Regions from separate parts of the Homo sapiens genome. Here region 2 is linked to region 1. Evidence: promoter capture Hi-C in 16 types of primary human blood cells and fetal thymus (Javierre and others, 2016). All regions are on one chromosome and are shown on one strand. The core of a region is centred on a gene start or on the middle of the fragment in contact, and the rest is flanking DNA. Distances in the headings are between cores, read along the strand shown.

Region 1 (6,534 bases), core at 2,594-5,093:
CCCGCCCCTCTGGGTGCCCATAAGATTCCCAGCCCACTCCTCACCAGGGGGGACCTGTAGTAGCGATGCAGCACCAGGATGAAGTCAGTGATGGTCAGCATCCCTGCAGGGAGGGGCGGGGAGGAGGTCAGCCCGGGGCCTTTGGGTGGAAGGCAGGTTGAGGGTCAGATCCCCTCCCCACCCTGCCAGTGTCCTTGTGCTGAGACACAGTGGGGACTGTGGGAACAGGACAGTGGGGCAGCCCCCCAGGCCTGAGAAGTGGGGCTCTTTCTCTCCTGCCTCCCCCCATTTGCTCCCTAGCACCTATGGCACAGGGCCATGCAGTAGCGGAGGTGAAAGGTGTCAGCTGGTCATAGCGGCTCCACAGATGGGGAAATTGAGCCCCAGGGTCTCCCAGCTGGCCATGCAGACTCCGGATGGACTTTCCTCCACCCTGGCCCCTGGCTGGGCTTGGCCTGAAGCCAAGCTTGTGGTATATCAGAGATCAGCCCCAGAACAACCGTACAAGATCTCCCCCTCACCTCCTCCATCTCCCTTCACCTCCCCAGCCTCTCCTCACCCACAAAGCTCTGCTTCTTGCTGTCCCATAGAGGGGCTGCCCGCACACCGTTGGCCACCAGAGCAAAGAAGGCCTTCTTGATCTGAGGGGCCAGGGAGAACAGTCAAGGGTGGGTCCCGAGAGACCCTCACCCCCCTCTCTGCCCCTCAGTGCGCACCTCCCATCTGCCTGCTGTCCCCTCCCTGTCCCACCCAGGGTTCTTCCATGGGGCCTTCTCCTGGACCCTCCTCTACACCAGCTGGCCTGTCTTCCTCATGTCACAGTACACGCTAGACATGATCGTTGCTGGGGACATGTACATAGATAAGGCTGTGGCCTGAGACCATGAGCCCCTCACCTGGCACACCAGGGAGTGAGAAATTCTAAGTTCATGTTTCCATTTGGAGGGTATGTGTGTACAGACACAGTCTAGTTTTTGATAGACTAAGTACCGGAGGCATAGTTATTTACATAACACTTGCATATTTACATACTTTTTTTGTAGATAAATTTTATATTGACTCATTTTGTGCCCCGTCCTAAGCAGTACTATCTGCACATGCTGGTTATATTTTTTTAACACAGCCTAAAACAAATATAAAGCTACTGAAATAGACATATTTTTTCACGAACCATTAGAATCAAAATGCATGCTATGGACAATACATACACCGTGTTTTGGGAAACACTGCACTGCATAACAATGATAAGAATAAGATTATAGACATTTATAGCTAAGCCTAATGGAAGAGCAGGTGCCAGAGCTCATTATTTTTTCTGTTACCAAGAGAGTCCCCTACTCTTTTTTCTAAGTCACTCTGTGATGCCTTTTTTTTTTTTTGACATGGAATTTCGCACTGTCTCCCGGGCTGGAGTGCAGTGGCACGATCTCGGCTCACTGCAACCTCTGCCTCCTGGGTTCAAGTGATTCGCCTACCTCAGCCTCCAAAGTAGCTGGGATTACAGGCGCCCACCACCACGGCCGGCTAATTTTTTGTATTTTTTTTTTTAGTAGAGATGGGGTTTCACCATGTTGGTCAGGCCGGTCTCGAACTCCTGACCTTGTGATTTGCCCACCTCGACCTCCTAAAGTGCTGGGATTACAGACATGAGCCACCGTGCCCGGCCTCTGCAATGTCTTACACATACTTTGTTCACGCTTTATACTGGGTAGTCCAAGAATCCTCTGAACTATGTAGGGTGCAGCAGGCATTTCGATCCCCATTTTAGAGACAAGAAAGGTAATGTAACTCAAGGTCCTACAGCTACTAAGTGGCAGAGCTGTGATGACAATTACGTGTGCTAACAGAGAGTAGAAGCTGTCCCTCCCCCAACTGGCCTCCATAGTGCTAAGAAGGAGTCCTTTCAGGGGGCTTGCAGGGGCACCTGGCTCAGCAGGGCATCCTGCAGGGTGGGAGTGGCGGCTGCAGCACCGTGTGGATGGAGAGTGAGTACAGGTTGGGCAGAGCCGTGGCCTCACCTCCAGCATGGTGTCGAAGATGACTAGCTTGGAGCTAGTTGCCATGGCATCGTAGCAGGTGTGCTCCTGCATGAAGCGCATGTAGATCTGGGCGCCGGGTTTCCGCAGTTCGTCATCCCAGCCCAGCTTGGGAAATGGGGCCTGCGGGGACAGGCACAGGGCAGGCCTCTCTTCCAGCAGGCCTTCTAGCTCACACTCCCAGGCCTCTGTGGCTGGGAACTCCGTGGCCAGCTCCACATCATCTGTGCTGGAGCCTGCAGCTGAGGCTGTACAGTCAGAGGGGAGGCAGTCCCACCCTGTTGGTGGAGTGCCCACCCCGGCAGGATCAGCTTGAGCCAAGGGTGTGGTCTTGGGGAATGTGGCCTCCAGCCCGGTGGACTCAGCAGCTGGCCTGGACCGGGGACCTGTTTGGGGGAGGAGGGGAAGAGGACAGTAACTCCATCTTCCAAAGCACGTTCTCATCTGCTGTCGCCATTCATCTCACAGCAGCAGTGGGAAGCCTGGATGCTGTGGCCCTATTTGCAGGTGAGGGGCTGACCTGAGAGTCGCCCCAGGTAGTGGCTCTGTCCCATCTTTCTGAGTTGGCCATGCTGGCCTCTGGCACTGCAGTGCCTTGTTCTCTACTATGTAGGGAGACTGAGGCCACAAGATGAAGGTTGGGTCCAACTCTGTGTTATGGAGGGACCTGAGGTAGAGACCAGACCCAGGCTCCTCTGGGATTTCCCACTCCCCTGGCTCCCACCTCCCCAGAACTGGCCTTGGCCTCACCTTCCCCCTGACCTGGTGGCTCCCCTTCCTCCACCGACTTCTGCCTTGTCCATCTCAAGGCTTTGGCCCTCCGTTTCCCACGGATTCTTTCTGAGCTGCTGGTCACAGCTGGTGATGGCCATGAGCTGCTGTTTTCTTGCTCTAGGAAGCTCATCTCTGGAAGGGGAATGGGGCCTGTTTGGTTAATAGGGAGTAATGCATCAAAATCAATTCAAATGTTATTCATAATCTTTAGGATTTGCAAGCTTCCAATGGGCTTTTCTCCAACATATTTCTCATTTAAAACTTACAGCAGCCTTATAAAGCAGGCATTATTATCATCCCTATTTTGCTAGTGAGGGACCAGAAATTCAGAGAGGTTAAGCAATTTGCTGCAAATCACACAGCAAGTAAGTGGGAAAGTCACTTCTGAAAAGAGGAAATTGGAGGTGAGGGAAACACACCTGGGGAAAGGAGGAAGAACAATGAGGAAGAAAGACCAAAAGGAGGAAGATAAAAGCCAGGCTGGGAGGGAATTGGGGTCCCAGAAAAGTGGGGGACAAGGAGGTGGGGGAAGAGGTTAGGCCCCAGGGAGGGGGCATTCTCCCTACCTTGATGCTCAGAACCCCCAAGGCTGCTCCAGGAAGGGGTCTGTGGGGAGAAGAGTTTCTGAAGGAGTGGGGAAAGTGCCTTACATTCCCAAACCCCTTCTCCCTGAACACACGCCTACACACCCATGCACACCAATACACACGCTCAGACACACGCCATACACAGACATGCAGCCATACACAAACACACACAGAAACACACACATCCAAACACTCCCAGGCACACAGAACCACACACACTCACAATACATATGCCCAAACATGCACATGCCCATATTCACGAGAAAATCCAGACCAAACACACACCAGAAGACACACACGCCCACACACACATTCACAGCCCGTGCGCTCAATCTTCTGGCCTCAGCTGCCCCGGCTCCGGCTCCCCTGGGACCCCCATACCCTGCGCAGTGCGTGCTCCAGCCCGGGCTCCATGTGGCCAGCCCCAGACCAACTGAGAGCAAGTGTGCGACACTGTGGCTGGGCTGCACTATTCTGGGCCCGGCCCCGGGCACCCTGCCCTGCCAGGATCGGTTTCTCTCTGATTGGGTGTCAGGCAATGAGAGGGAGGGGCCCCCATTTGCTCAGCTGCTACAGCCCTGAAGGCTGGGGGTTGCTGGGAGGGAAGGGGCGCACCGGATAATCTGGGTACTTGGTCCTCAGCTGCCTCCTGGGTCACTGAGGACAAGCTAGAGGGACCCTTTTTGAGGGGATGTGGCTTGGAGCATGTGGGAACATGGTCATTGAGCAGAGTTGGGCTCTCAGAGTCCTGAGCCCCTATTCCAAGAGCCTCCCTCATCTTTATCAGGCACCAAAGAAGGGAACATGGAGGCAGATCAGCATAACTTTCTTCCTTGTTCTAATTTCAGTAGAGGGTGGTGCTGGAGTTAGAAAGGGCAAGTTGCAGCCAGCTCAGAGGCTGGAGATGAGGCAAGGGGTTTGTGGGTAGTCCAGGAGAGCAGCTAGTGTATGTCCAGATGTCCAGATTTGAGTCCCTGGAGTGTGTCCCTCTCTCAGGTGAAGGAGATGGAGTGGGTGTTTCAGGCAGGTGAAGAGCTGTGAGAATCACCTCGAAGGCGTGGGGAGCACTCAGAGCTCCCCGCAGGGGAAGAGACATCTGTTTCCACCTGTGGTTGGGAGATATGCCTGGGTGTGCAGGTGTCCCAGCCCCCAACCCTCTGTGAGTGCTGTGCCTACATCCCTGGTGCCAACAGGATCCCAGCCTGGCTCCAGTAGCTGCCACCCTCTTCCTTGGCATTCCCGGAGCCTGAGTCAATGTCCGGATTGGGAATGCTGACCCAGCTGCTCCGGCTTTCCTCTCTCTGCCCCTCCCTTTCTCTCCTCCTTCCAGCCTCTTCCATCCCAGCCCTGGCCCTGGAGTGGACACTCAACAACAGACTGGTGAATTTCTGTCTGAGTTTATTACATGTGTTTTCCATCAACCCTCAATGTTCCTACTCTGCCAATGGGGAGGGTGGAGGAGAATGGAGTTGGGAGGACAGCCTTGGCCAGGGCTGTTCCTGTGGTCCCCAGCCTTTCTCAAGGACATCTGCTCACTGGACAGTGGGAACTGGCTCAGAGGACAGAGATCAGTGTAAGAGAATTTCCTTCACACCAAGCATGTTTTTTCAAATGGACTCAAGATAGCCACCACCAGTTTGAGAGAAAGGAGAGTAGGAAGAACACCAAGTCCAGAGTGTTCAAGCATAAAAATAAGGTCTACATGAGGCCATTGGCTGTGGTTACTCAAACATGGAGCCACTCAGAAGGCTTCTAAGATTGTGAGGGTGTTGTATTGGCAAAGAAACCATAAGCCTGATCAGCAAAGCCTGGTTTGACACCCCTTCCCTTGCCTTATTCCCAGCCCTCCAAATCCGCACCAGCAGGAAGAGGGCTGTGAAGGCTGGAAGGACTGCAGAAAGCACAAGTTTGCCAGTGTGGGACAAAGGATATTGGATAAACAACAGCTTCCCAGCAGGAAAAGCCAGAGGCTACATAGGAGAGTGGAAAGGGGAGATCTTCCCAGAGAGCAGAACCAGGGGTGGTCAAATGTGCTGACCAAGAACTTACTCCACTGCCAGGAAAGGGCTTAGCCATTCCTGCCCAACCAGATTTGATAATTAAGATCCAGCAGCTGCTGGGTGTTTGCCATTCTTTCAGTTGCAAGTGGATTTTTTTTTTTGAGACAGTGTCTCACTATGTTGTCCACGCTAGTCTCAAACTCCTGGGCTCAATGATCCTCCTATCTCAGTAGCTGGGACTATAGGCGCGTAGCAGTGTGCTCAGCATGAGTCAGTGTTTTAATTGAGCTTACCCTCTTCTTCCTCCACTGTTGTCTGTGGGGAGTAGGAGGTGCAAATCACCTGCCTGTTAGTTTTTAGGTCACCAGACCATAGGGTGTCCATCTACCTGGAAGAAGGAACTGCCCACCCCTCAGATAGCCTGGACTCTCAGCTGGGTGCCGTACTCAGATGGAACTCTGACTTGCCTCCTTTTGAAGGGCAGTAACTGTGTTTTTTGTGTGGGATGGCCAGATGGGTGAGCTCTAGTAGAGCAATATCTCTTCTACCCTTCTTCTGCTGTTAGTAAACCACTACAATTTTAACTGAATGCAAGATTATATTTCACAGCTTCTTTTGCAGATAGTATGGCCATATGACTAAGTTTGACCATGAAATTTGAGCAGCAATGTTATATACATATATATTATATGATAGAAGGGTACCCCTAGGAGGAAAGGGAACCCTTTCTTACTGGCTAGAATTACAATACGATGATGGGAGCCGGAGCAGCAAACTGAACCCAACGATGGAAAATGCAGTTTGAAAATGATAGAACATCCCCCACCCCTGTCCTGGTCTGCCTACCTCTGGATTGTTATGTTAGAGATAAATAAATTTCTGTCTTGTTTAAACGATCGACAAATTGAACCTTTGTTATAGCAGCCAAGCCTCTCTCTAACTAATACATCTACGTTGCAGGATTGAGGTAGGATTAGGAATTACATATGTAGATAATGACCCTGCATGTTCGTGCAGTGCTTAGTGTCTACTACACACTGTGCAAAACACATTATATGCCATGTCCTGTGTAATCCCTTGCAACCCTGTGAGGGAAATACTTTGACTATTACAATTTTACAGATGACAAAACCAAGG
Region 2 (6,534 bases), core at 2,236-4,735, 220 kb before region 1:
TACACACACACACACACACACACACACACACACACACACACATATATATATATATATATACACACACACACATATGTATATTCTCTGGTCTTTTGAAGTTATATATCCTGGCTTTTAATTCTACAGGTGGTCTCATATTGATTTTTTTTTTTTTTTTTGAGACACAGTCTCGCTCTGTCACCCACCCAGGCTGGAGTGCAATGGCACCGTCTCAGCTCACTGCAACCTCCGCCTCCCAGGTTCAAACAATGATCCTGCCTCAGCCTCCTGAGTCGCTGGGATTACAGGCATGTACCACCATGCTTGGCTAATTTTTGTATTTTTAGTAGAGACCAGGTTTCACCATGTTGACCAGGCACCAGGCTGGTCTCGAACTCCTGACTTCAAGTGATCCACCTGCTTCGGCCTCCCGAAGTGCTGGGATTATAGGCATGAGCCACCGCGCCCAGTCCTTTTATTTTTTTATTTTTATTTTTATTTTTATTTTTTTTGAGACAGAGTCTCGCTCTGTCACCCAGGCTGGAGTGCAGTGTTGCGATCTCGGCTCACTGCAACCTTTGCCTCCTGGGTTCAAGCGATTCTCCTGCCTCAGCCTCCTCCTGAGTAGCTGGGATTACAGGCACGTGCCACCATGCCTGGCTAATTTTTATATTTTTAGTTGAGATCGGGTTTCACCATGTTGGTCAGGCTGGTCTCAAACTCCTGACCTCGTGATCTGCCCACCTCGGCCTCCTAAAGTTCTGGGATTACAGGCGTGAGCCACCGTGCCCGGCCCTGATTTTTTTTTTTTTAAGAGACAGAGTCTTGCTATGTTGCCCTGGCTGGTCTGAAACTTCTGTACTCAAGCAATCCTCCTACCTCGGCCTCCCAAAGTGCTGGAATTACAGGTGTGAGCCACTGTGCCTGGCCTTATGTTGATGATTTTTAAATGGAATTTACTGTTTTGAGTTGCATTTTTGATCAGGAAGGAGTTGGGCTTTATTTCAGAAGTTTGAGTAGTTTGGTTCGATAGTCTGGGGAACTGATCTCAGACTTTCCAGCCTGAGTGTCCTGACAAGCGGAGACATTTAATTGGGTGGCATCTGCTCTGGATGTCAGGAAGAAGGTCTAGGCAGGCCTGGGTGGCAGGGCGAGAGTACCATGTTTAGGTCTTCCTCTTTGCCAGCTGCTGCTTCATTTCAGTTTAGGGCTTCTAGGCTTTTCCTGGGCATGGTTCCCAGAAAGTCCCTCTGCTGCTACTGCCCTGATCAGGTTTCTGGATCTGTTAATAATAGACAACAGTGGGGGAAGGGGCAGCCAGGATCATGGTGGAAATAGGAATAACCATACCAGATGGACATTTACTGTGCCCAGGGGGCCCTGTCTGTCTGCTCCCTCCCTCTGTTTCATGAGAGTCCTGCAGTGGGCATGCCTTGGCACTCTGGAACCATACTAACCTTGTGAAAGTCTCCAAGTCCCTGCCCCAAAAATCAGAACATATGGGCTGAAGAATACTGTTGTATTCATGGGAACATTGAAACAGAATATTTGAGATCTAGACTCTCCCAGAAAATCCACTATGAGTGATAACACCCCTCACAGATTACCCAAGAGGGAAGGAGGTTGGGCAGCATTAAATTGATGCAAATAGTGACTCAGAAAGATGGTATATAATCTGGGGGTATAGAAGAGGAGTGTGGACTGTGAAGGTGAGGCTTGGAAAAATAAGCTGGCCATGTTGGGGAAGTAGAAATGGGAGAGCAAGACAAGCATGTAAAACAGGGCCTCTATTAAGTCAAATCTGAAATCAGCACAGTTTAAACTACGATGCCCCCCAATCTTCCTGTTCCCCATGAATGGCCTCCCTCCTAATGTGTCCCCTTCCTTCATACTACTACTCTTCTATCAAAACCTGCTCTCAGTAAAGAATATAGACAACCCAACCTAGGTATAAATTATTTAAAATCTACTTTGACCTTAGGATTGAATTTTTAAAAAATTATTTATAATCGGCTGGGTGCAGTGGCTTACGCCTGTAATCCTAGCACTTTGGGAGGCCAAGGCAGGTGGATTGCCTGAGCTCAGGAGCTCAAGACCAGCCTGGGCAACACGGTGAAACCCCGTCTCTACTAAAATACAAAAAAAAGTAGCTGGGGGTGGTGGCATGCACCTGTAATCCCAGCTACTCAGGAGGCTGAGACAGGAGAATTGCTTGAACCCGGGAGGTAGAGGTTGCAGTAAGCCAAGATCACGCCATTGCACTCCAGCCTGGGCAACAGCGAGACTCTTATCTCAAAAAAAAAAAAAAAAAAAAAAAAAAATATATATATATATATATATACACACACACACATATACATATACATATATGTATATTTAAAATCATTAAGCCTTCAAAAGTTAACACAGATATATGATATTTTAAATGAGACCTAAAAAAATAAATTTAAAAACACATATAGAAAATATATCAAGAGAATGTATAGCTTAATAAATTATTAAGTGAAGACCCTTGTTAGCACTTAGAACTAGAAATAGAGTTTAGCTAGCTATGCCAGAAGCCCCCTCTGTGTCCCATCTCACCACAATTCCTCCCCCTCCCAACAGTAACCACTATCCTGACTTTTATAGTAATCACTTAGGAGGATTTTATTTTAATGGGACTAAAAAATGTAGCTATAATCACTAATGGTAAAATATTAGGCAGTTGAGGGATGCTTGTGGAAACCATGATAGGCAGCCAGACGTCAGCACACTTAAAATTACACCATTTCACACAGTTCCCCTCTGAGCCTATGCTTCATCTCTGCACACATCTTTATAAACATGCATGTATGTCCTGAAGGTGCTACCTCCATTCTGAGGGCTATGACTTATAACCCAGAGGTGCTGAACAGATGCTTGTAGGAGGAACGAATGGATGTTTAAAAAAAAATGAGCTGTTTCACACGTTCATCTATGCATTCTTTCAATATTTAATGAGTGCCTAAAATATACATAGATTCTAACCTATCTGTCCCTCTACATTCTATCATCATTCCTGTCCTCCCCTTCTCCTCGTCTTCCTCTTTTCCCATCTTATTTCTTTCTTTTCCTGTGGGACGGAGCTACAGTGAGTGCCCTGCAGGCAGGATTCAGAGATACAGGAGCAGGCCAGTGGAAACAGACACTATGGAAAGGAGCCAGATTAAATAAGGGCAAAAACAGCCGTATTACATGCAGGAACCAGAATGAAAAGCAGTGATTCACAGAGCACTGCAACTGAGGACACTCCCTTCACTTTGAGAGCTACTGCGGGATTGGGGTCAATGAGGGCTGGCATCAAGATGAAGGGCAGCCAGGCTCCTCCCTGGAGATGTGCTGCCCTTAATCCTTCTCTCCCCACCCCACCCCCACTACTCCCTCACATTGACCAGTGTCCTGGGCCTTTAAGAGTTGGATGGGCTGGACTGGAGAGAGCTCACACCTCTCCCCTTCTTACTGCTTCCCTCCGGCTATAACTTGCCAGTCACAGCAGCCAGCTGCTGTAGAAGAGGGGAGGAAACAAGCCAGTGCAAGGGGAGCAAAAGAGAAAAGGAGCCAGGCTGGGCTTCCTGATCCCACAGCATCGCAGAGCTCGGGAGGCACAGCTCACAGACACAGGAAACACAGGACTGCTATTCTGCTCTCCTGCCCACGGTAAGGATCTGGAAGCTCTGACTACCCTCTGCTCTAAGCTCTGTCTTCCCTGAGTCCCTACCTCTGCCCTCTAGATGCTTATCCACCCTGATTAAATTGTACCCTAGACTCCTTTCCTCATCCCAACAGCTCTACAGGGCTCCCACCTCCTGGTTCTCTCTAGCTTATCCTCCTTTATCCTTACAGCTTTCCTCCTGGCTGTGTCAGTCGCCCTTTATATGAGGTACCTCTTAGCTTATGCAGGGCCAGAAGTGCCAACCCTAGCCACTCCTGAGGTGAACTCCACCCCCAATAAGGGAAGAAAAAATTGGAGTAGCTAAGCTTTAGCATAGATTCATTAACAGTTTGTTGAGGGTTGCAAAATAGGGGTTGGCCAAGAACCATGGGGAATCAGAGATCCCTGGTAATAGAGAGAGTTATGAAAGTCCCTTAGAAAGTTCTCTAAAGAACTTGTTCTTTGCCTATTCCATGGGCCAGAGCAGTTTCTTAGTGCACCAGAGTGCTACGTTGGTAAGAAAACCTACTTCTAGTTCTGCCTGTGCCATTAACTAGCTACGGGACCTGGAGCCACAACTTCCAGATCTGTGATACGAGAGAGTTTAGGGTTTCCCAGACTTGCCTGTGTACCAAGTGTACTTGTTAAAAATAAATATATTATTGAGCCCCACCCTGGGTAACTCTGATCTGGTAGATTTTTGGGTAGGGCTAAGGATCTCAATTTCAAGACATTCCAGAGGCTATTGATGTAGCTGGGAATGTCTGGATTAGATGTGTTATAAAAGAACTGGCCGGGCGCGGTGGCTCACACCTGTAATCCCAGCACTTTGGGAGGCCGAGGCGGGTGGATCACGAGGTCAGGAGATTGAGACCATCCTGGCTAACATGGTGAAACCCCGTCTCTACTGAAAATACAAAAAATTAGCCGGGCGAGGTGGGTGGCGGGTGCCTGTAGTCCCAGCTACTCGGGAGGCTGAGGCAGGAGAATAGCGTGAACCCCGGGGGGCGGAGCCTGCAGTGAGCCAAGATCGCACCACTGCACTCCAGCCTGGGCGACAGCGAGACTCTGTCTCAAAAAAAAAAAAAAAAAGAACCTTCAAGCTCCAACATTCTGTGACCTGTGACCAGAGCCAATTTGTCCTCTATATGAACCAGGTTAGGCATAATCCTTCTCAGAAGCAAGGGAGTAGACAAAATGATTCTCTTCTTTCTTGCCCCTCAGAGAGACCTGAGACACCCTGAATCCCACTGTAATCTCCTTGGTGCCATTGGTAACTCTGCCAAAGTCCATCTCTAGGTGACATGAAGTCTCTTAGAAATTGAGGACCAAATTGCGCTCTGCAGCTCTGGGCTACTTCCCATCTCATTTTGTGTCCCTATTTTCGTATCTGTATTAGAGAGGTAATTACCATATCATTGAAGATCTCCATATATGTGTCTATGAGTTAATATTTAAGACCAACCTTTCTTATTATCAGATGTCATCCTCTGTGTTTTTCCCAGTGCCCTCACTCCCAAACCCTTTGTTCCTTCTCTTCTCATTGCACCTGCATCAGCTGTGGGCATCCTTCCCATTCTACCATTAGACACCAGAGGAAACAGCAAGACCTAGAATACCTAGGTTCTAACTCACATTGTCTGGGCAGTTTGTTTGGTCAATCTCCTAGGATACAGAGAAAAGTGAGGCTGAGCAGAGGGACACGCATGCTACTGAGTTCTGAACCCAAGTGTCCTCCCTTCTGGACCACAGTCTCAAAATTCTCAAAGGAGATGAGACTCAGAGCCATTGCGAATTAGTGGAGTCAAAAGAGGGAACCAACTGGAAGAGGTGATGGGGAGAAGGGATGAGGAGAAGGAAGAGAAGAGGAGAGACTGACCTAGGTGAGCAAACAGGAAGACAGAGGATTAAGAGAGAGAGAGAGGTGGGGATGGGGCTGGGCATGATGGCTCACGCCTGTAATCCCAGCACTTTGGGAAGCCCAGGCAGGAGGATTGCTTGAGGCCAGGAGTTTAAAACTAGGGCTACACAGGGAGACCCCATCTCCATACAAAACAAATAATAATTTAAAAAAAATTTTTTTTATAGTGAACTGGGAAGAAAGGAAAAGGACCAGGTCAGGCATGGGATAGGGAAAGGAAAGAAAATGAGATGAAAGAGGCTGGGCATGGTGGCTCACCCCTGTAACCCCAGCACTTAGGGAGGCTGAGGCGGGTGGATCATCTGAGGTCAGGAGTTTGAGACCAGCCTGGCCAACATAGTGAAACCCCGTCTCTACTAAAAATAAAAAAAATTAGCCAGGCGTGGTGGCACACACCTGTAATCCCAGCTACTTGGGAGGCTGAGGCAGGAGAATCACTTGAACCCAGGAGGCGGAGGTTGCAGTGAGCCAACATCATGCCACTGCACTCCAGCCTGGGCGACAGAGTGACACTCCGTCTCAAAAAAAAATAAATAAATAGAAATAAAGAAAATGAGACCAAAGAAAAGCAAGACTATTCAGAGTACAGAGGGAACAGAAAGTGATGGAGAGGAGAGACAAAATACCAATGTCCCTTATTGATTCCTAGCCTTGCTTCAACTGTTTTCTAGAGAAGGCCCTTTCCAAGAGCAGAGTCATTGTGAGATCCTTGAGCTGGTTGTATGGAGACCTGGGTTCTTTTTTTTTTCCTCCTGCCCAAGACAGAGTTTTGCTTTTGTTGCCCAGGCTGCAGTGCAATGGCGCCATCTCGGCTCACTGCAGCCTCCGCCTCCTGGGTTCAAGCAATTCTCCTGCCTCAGCCTCCCAAGTAGCGGAGATTATAGGTGTGCACCACTACTCCCAGCTAATTTTTGTATTTTTAGTAGAGAAGGGGTTTCACCATGTCGGTCAGGCTGGTCTC

What was found. The method cuts DNA at HindIII sites, captures the fragments that hold promoters and counts their contacts. A CHiCAGO score of 5 or more calls a contact.
Region 2: a contact is called between the fragment with the promoter of PLCD4 here and the fragment with the promoter of PRKAG3 in region 1, in 2 of 17 cell types (erythroblasts and activated CD4 T cells). The highest score is 6.5, in erythroblasts.

What each region holds. Positions count from the first base shown.
Region 1 is chr2:218,827,960-218,834,493 of GRCh38, forward strand. It overlaps PRKAG3 (protein kinase AMP-activated non-catalytic subunit gamma 3), which reads right to left and starts at 3,844. Exons shown (of 14, transcript NM_017431.4): 1 at 3,779-3,844; 2 at 3,377-3,416; 3 at 2,787-2,942; 4 at 2,019-2,422; 5 at 560-641; 6 at 45-103. The coding sequence starts at 3,811. The HindIII fragment of the contact is 3,600 bases long and covers 3,030-6,534 here.
Region 2 is chr2:218,604,414-218,610,947 of GRCh38, forward strand. PLCD4 (phospholipase C delta 4) reads left to right here and starts at 3,486. Exons shown (of 16, transcript NM_032726.4): 1 at 3,486-3,657. The HindIII fragment of the contact is 12,670 bases long and covers 1-3,976 here.